2 separate regions of the Homo sapiens genome follow, and region 1 is linked to region 2. Evidence: promoter capture Hi-C in 16 types of primary human blood cells and fetal thymus (Javierre and others, 2016). All regions are on one chromosome and are shown on one strand. The core of a region is centred on a gene start or on the middle of the fragment in contact, and the rest is flanking DNA. Distances in the headings are between cores, read along the strand shown.

Evidence for each region. Contacts are between HindIII fragments. The CHiCAGO score rates a contact against its expected background, and 5 or more counts as called.
Region 1: a contact is called between a fragment that was not itself captured here and the fragment with the promoter of FAIM in region 2, in 1 of 17 cell types (naive CD8 T cells). The highest score is 5.7, in naive CD8 T cells.

What each region holds. Positions count from the first base shown.
Region 1 is chr3:132,417,980-132,420,956 of GRCh38, forward strand. The region is part of intron 1 of DNAJC13 (DnaJ heat shock protein family (Hsp40) member C13); the gene reads left to right. Among named protein-coding and RNA genes, the nearest start is that of DNAJC13, 2.0 kb to the left of the region's middle. RefSeq lists an enhancer at 1-387. The HindIII fragment of the contact is 597 bases long and covers 1,385-1,981 here.
Region 2 is chr3:138,607,077-138,610,301 of GRCh38, forward strand. FAIM (Fas apoptotic inhibitory molecule) reads left to right here and starts at 1,695. Exons shown (of 6, transcript NM_001033031.2): 1 at 1,695-1,861. RefSeq lists a silencer at 1,783-2,242 and an enhancer at 2,343-2,432. The HindIII fragment of the contact is 4,797 bases long and covers 1-3,225 here.

The DNA of each region.
Region 1 (2,977 bases), core at 433-2,932, 6.2 Mb before region 2:
CTGTCCAGCCCCACCCCTTTTTTTTGCTTGTTTTATACCTAGTACGCTCCTCCACTCGCCTTAACATATCCTTACCCCACAGGCTCTTCATTCCCTTGTGGGTTCCGCCCTCGGGATTCCCTTCCAGTCTCCTAGTCTGAGCACCCTTCCTGCTGGATGCCGGCAACTCTTGTTTCCTTGGGTCAGCGACCCTCCTTCCGAACAAGTCCTGCAGACTGACTTTCTTTGCTTTGTTTCGTTTTGTTAGGAAATGAGCATCCGCGTCGTCTGTTCTCCAGTACTTTTTCTAAAATCATTTTCTCCCCTAAGGCTTTTCCTTCCTGCAAGGCAGCTTATTCACGTGGCCTTTCCTCCGCTGCTGTGATTTTATCTTTGAATGTGGCCTTTGGAGTGGGTAAAGTAGGACTTAGACGCTCAGTGAAGTGGCTGTTAATCACTTGATACTTAACTATGTTTAAGAGTGCCTTCCCTTAAATTTTCTCCTTTTGTAGCGTGTTCCGTTAACCACGTTTGTCTTAAGATTGTTTCCTGTGTCCGTTGCTTAGAGGGGGGAAAAAAGTAAAGATTTCACCCTAATGTGGCGGTGGTCTCCCAAAGTAATTATTTCTCATTTTCCCTCTGCTTTTCCCTTTTACGTTATTCTGATTTCCCTCAAAAAGGAGGTTCTGTACCTGATGCTGTTGCGTCCTCTATGAAGGGCTTTATAGTGTACAGTTATGTTGAGCCTTTTGTAATACAGTGTCTTGGGGAAAAAAGTAGAAGTTCAGAACCTGCCCCCAGTAATTCTTTCTTACTATATTTTCTTTCTCAGTTTATGGACTTGATAGGTTTCTAGGTTTGAAACTACTGCCTGCAGGGAAAATTACAGTGATAAGGTTTTATAATATATTACCAGTACTTTGAGTTTATGGGAGTATGAAACAGAATTTGCCTTAAAAAAATAAATTTATAGAAACCACTTGTCAGAAATTCGGTATCCAGAACACAGTTCTTTGATTTTTGGAAAGTACTTTATTGGCTTATCTATCATATAACGTAAAACCTTGTTCACATTTTGTGTAATGTGAAACGCTTTTTAAGCTACTATATCTCAGACTTGGCTTGTGCTGTTAGTATCACAATGCATTCAGGCAACACACGTCCTTGTGTAGAAATTATTACATTATACTCCTTGTTTGAAAACAGGAAGTAGAACATATTAAGGGAGGAAAAGAGGAGTCAGAGGATTATTAAGAAATAAGAATGTAAAGAACCTTAAGGCTAGAGTTCAGTTCATGGAAAATATCAGCATTTGTATTCCACTGAGAGGCAATGAATATTCCTCTTTTTCTAAAGTGGTAGTAATAAATAGTCTAAAATATATTAATGTTATATATTGTTAACAAGCTTAGTTGTAAACAAAATACTTAAGCTAAAAAATAAAATATTAATAAGTGAATGAATTGTTTGGAATAATTTAACTTTATCCACAAATAAATAGAAGATGGTTGCCTTGCCCAGGTGGACTGTAACAATACTGGCTTTATTAAATTTGTTAAAAGGTTGATAGTGGAGTCCGGTTCTCAATAGGTCCCAAATTAGGGTTGAAATTGAAAAGATGTGTTTTAACTAATTTGGCTTCATTCCTCAACCAGTTCTGTTTACACAGGTGAATATGAGGTTTCTGCTACACATACCTTTCCCCTGCTTCTGATTGAGGTACTTTAAATTAGTAATTGAAACAAGGCTGTGCAGATAAACTGCAGCACAAATTTGGTTGCTACAAATAGGTTTTGGCCTAAATGTTCACTGTAAAACATGGCAGTAGTTAAAGGGGAGTTATTAATATTTTGAAAGAGTTCCTTGAGTCAGTGTTTCTCAACTTTATTAGACCCAATAAAGGCTCCCTTTTTATAAAAAATAATTAGTAACACCTTCTTTGCTATCTTTAGTTTATAAATAATGTAACTACCTCTGGCTTTGGCCCTGAGACAAAAAAAGAAGCTTTGCTCTCACTTCTGCAACAAAAAAAGACCTACACTACAAATTCATGACTTTTTTGAAATCTATTAAAGAGCTGAGTCCACAGAGCAAAACCACTGGCTGAAAATTTGAGAGACAGTGCTTACAGAGAGTAGATGTCAATTTCTGTTTACCGTCTTCAGACACAACTGGACAAAAAGCATGATGAAAGCTGAATGCACAATCTTGCAAACTCTTATCCACAAACCTCCCTGGGTCTACTAGAAAAGACTGGAAAGAACCCTGGGTGAGTCTGCTGTGCAGATTGAGAGGGAGAGGAACAGCAACAGAACTTTTAAGAGGGTCAAGAAACTGCTGTGATTCTTCCCCTCTGCCTCTTCTATGGAAAAAAGCTTTAATCTCTGGGGAGAAGGGTATCTCTGTTGGCCCCATTGGTGAACATTCAGGGGGTAGATGAGAAGTGGGAGAGAATCTTATGCCTGGAGGAGGGGCCCTGAGCCCAAAACTGCAGTCGGGAGTGGTCAACAGAACCGAGAGTGCTGCCCTCCTGAGATTCAGGAACACAGTGTTTGACTTAGACTTAATCAGAACATCAGACTGTATCCCCCACCCCCAACCCCCTGCCACCAAGCTAAGAAGCTTTCAGTAACAAGTAACCCACAAAATACTACTAGGAAAGGAACAAGATTATGCAAAGAGGCACAACACAAAGAATCAAACAGGCATTGCTCTAGTAAACCATCGCCCACCAGAGAGACAAACTGTTCTGCAGATTCATGAAGGCTGTAATACACTGAGGATAACTATGGCAAAAACAAATCATAAACTAAGTCCAACTCCTAACCAGATTAACACAAACCCTTCACCAAAGGCCTCACAAAGAACAGGCGTGCTCATTTCCAGTCATAAAAATTACCTCAATCTCTACTCCTACACAACATGTCCAGCTTTTAACCAAAAATTATGAGGCCCATGAAAAAAACTCCCAAGAGAAAGAGCAGTCATCATTATACAT
Region 2 (3,225 bases), core at 445-2,944:
TACCCAGGCCTGCTCTTCATTCATTCATTCATTTAATAAATATTTACCAGAGCTAACATGGGCCTGCACGGTACAGATGTGAGACATACAAGAATGAGAGCCAAGCGGCCATGGTCTCTGCCTTCATGGATCTCAGTCTACTGTTAAGTTACACATTAAGCAAAAATTACACAAATTATTGCACACCCTGAAAGGGGCTAGGAAGAAGAATCCCTGGTGCTGCAATTTTTGTGTTTTTTTTGTTTTTGTTTTTGAGACGAAGTATCACTCTGTGGCTCAGGCTGCAGTACAGTGAGGCGATCTCAGTTCGCTGCAACTGCCACCTCCCAAGGTCAAGTGATTCTCCTGCCTCAGCCTCCTGAGTAGCTGGGATTACAGACGCATGCCACCACGCCCGGCTAATTTTTGTATTTTTAGTAGAGCTAGGGTTTCACCACGTTGGCCAGGCTGGTCTCAAACTTCTGACCTCAGGCAATCCGCACCTGGCCTCCCAGAGTGCTGGGATTACAGGTGTAAGCCACTGTGCCCGGCTGTTTTTTTTTTTTTTTTTTTTTGAGACAGAGTCTTGCTCTTCGCCCAGGCTGGAGTGCAGTGGCTCAATCTCAGCTCACTCCAACCTCCACCTCCCAGGTTGAAGCGATTCTCCTGCCTCAGCCTCCCAAGTAGTTGGGACTACAGGCATGCACCACCACGCCCCTCTAAGTTTTATATTTTCAGTAGTGACGGGGTTTTGCCATGCCTGCCTCAGCATCCCAAAGTGCTGGGATTACAGGCGTGAGCCACTGAGCCCGGCTGTTTCTTTTTGTGTGTGTTTTTTTTAATGAAACAGGGTCTCGCTCTGTTGCCCAGGCTGGAGTGTAGTGGTGCAATCACAGCTCTCTGCAGCCTCTACCTCCCTTCAGGGCCCAAGCAATTCTCCCACCTCAGCGTCCCAAGTAGCTAGGATTACAGGCCTGAGCCGCTAATTATTTTCTTTTCTTCTTTCTCATTCTCTCTCTCTCTTTTTTTTTTTTTTTACCATGTTGCCCAGGCTGGTCTTGAACTCCTGGACTCAAGAGATCCGCCACTCTGCCTCCCAAAATGCCGTGATTACAGGTATGAGCCACCACACCCAGCAATGCTGCAAGTCTTATGGGCCAGGATAGTGTAATCTAAGAAATGATATATGAAGAACTCTCACAATAGGGAAGAGGTGAGGAGTGTCCAGGCAGAGAGAAGAGCATTTGCAGAGGCCCTGGGCGAGAAGAAACCTGCATCCTTTAAGGACCTAAATGAAGCCAAGCAGGCAGAGGCTAGATCACACATGGGGGCTTCATGCCCACCTTAAGTAGTTTGGGTCTTTAAAAAAGGAATGAGACTCATAAAGAGGTTTTAAGGAGCGAATGCTATTGCTGCCATGAACAGATATTCCTTCCCCATAGCTGCAGAGCAGGCACAGGGCTGTTTTTGCCCGCCAGTATGTCCCCACCGTCTAGCCCAGAGCGGGGCCAGCGGCCGGCTCCTACCCACACTTGCTGGCAGGAAGACTGGACGCACTGCGGGACATGGTGATGTCCTGGGTTGGGGCTGAGGAAGGCCTATGCGCGGAGGGTGCGGCCTTCGGCTAAGGCAGAGGACCAGGGTTGGGTCCGTGGCGGCGGGAGGGGTGGCCTCCTGCGCTGGTCGCCCCAGGGGACCTGAGAGGCGCGACAAACAGTCGGCGCGTTTGGTACTCGCGCCTGCAGAGCTTTCAACCTCCGCGCCGGCTGCGCCTGTTTCTCGGCCAGGGGAGCAAGGCCACGCGGCCTACGCAGCCGAGTCGGAACCAACCGGTTGTTTGGTGAAACCTACCCCAGAGCCTCCCGCGGCCCACAGAGCACAGGTGAGGCAGCAGACCGGGTGGGGTCGGTGTCGCGCCTGCGCCCGCCCGGACGCCTCGGGCCCGCCCGCTCCGCACCCTGGAAACCCCTGCACTCAGCCCCCCGGCGTCCCCACGCTCTCGGCCCTGCTGCGCCGGCGGCGGCCATCTCTGGGCGGCGGCGGCGGGCGGTGTTTGCGCGGTCGGTGAGACCCGCGCGGGTGAGACGCTGGGTGAGTTCCGGACGCTTCCAGCCGGCCCGCCGGTGATCCCAGACCTCGGGGCGGGACGCGGCTCCCGCTCACCGCCGGCAAAGGTGGAGGTGCGGCGGGGCGCGGGGCGCGGGGCCAGCCCGGGGCGGTGCGGGGGCGTCCCTGCCTAGCGAGGCCCTGCCCCGCGACCTGCCGCACCCTCCTCCGGCCTGTTCGCGACCTCTAAAGATAATACTTCTCACTGTCGAAAACGTGGAACAGAAAGCAAGGAAGCAAGCAAAGCAGCCGTGCCGCTGCTCCCCAGAGACAAGCTGCGTTAACATGAGGGTGTATATTCTTCCAGATGGTTTTTCCTTGTAACATGAGCGGGGCTTGTTTTTGCAGAACCTGCATCATAAAGTGCTGAAACTCTCTCTCTCTCTCTCTCTCTCTCTCTCTCTCTCTCTCTCTCGACTCTCTCTCTCTCGACTCTCTCTCTCTCTCTCTCGACTCTCTCTCTCTCTCTCTCTCTCTCTCGACTGTACATTCCTGTGTGTCAGGTTGACTACCTCATCCATCCCTGACTCTTGGCATGGCTTTGGACTGTGATTTACTAAATGTAGTTTCTCCCTGATGGTGAGCGTACAAGTGGTTTTCAGTTTTTAGTTATTGCAAAAAGTAATTCATTGAGCATCGTTGTATCTGGGTTTTTGAGCGTGATCATTTCTGTAGAAAGAATCGCACAAGATTCGTTCTAAAACAAGATAGAATCCACGGTCTATACCACAAGGCTTCTGGTATAGATTGTGAAATGGCCCTCAGAAAAGTTATTCTCCTTTTTGTACCTCCAGTAAGTAGCATTTGGGAATACTTGGCTCGAGGAGCTTCCTGAGTGATTTTACTGGAGACCCCCCTCACTTCATAAGGGGCCGGCCCGGAGATGAAGATGTCAACACTTGAGTGTGACTTGCATTATTGGCTGGCCCTACCTGGGGGCCTTTGCTGAAAAGGGAACCATGAGCATCTTAGTAACTACTATCATCTAGTAATTTTTAAACTGACTTCGGTTTATCTTGAACGAACCATTTCAGTCCCCAGTAAGAATAAACCTAAGTTAAGGCAAAATTCAGGTGGATTAGATGAACAGTGGCAACGTGTTGGTGTTTAAGTCATGCTCTGAAACTTAGGTGTTGGGTT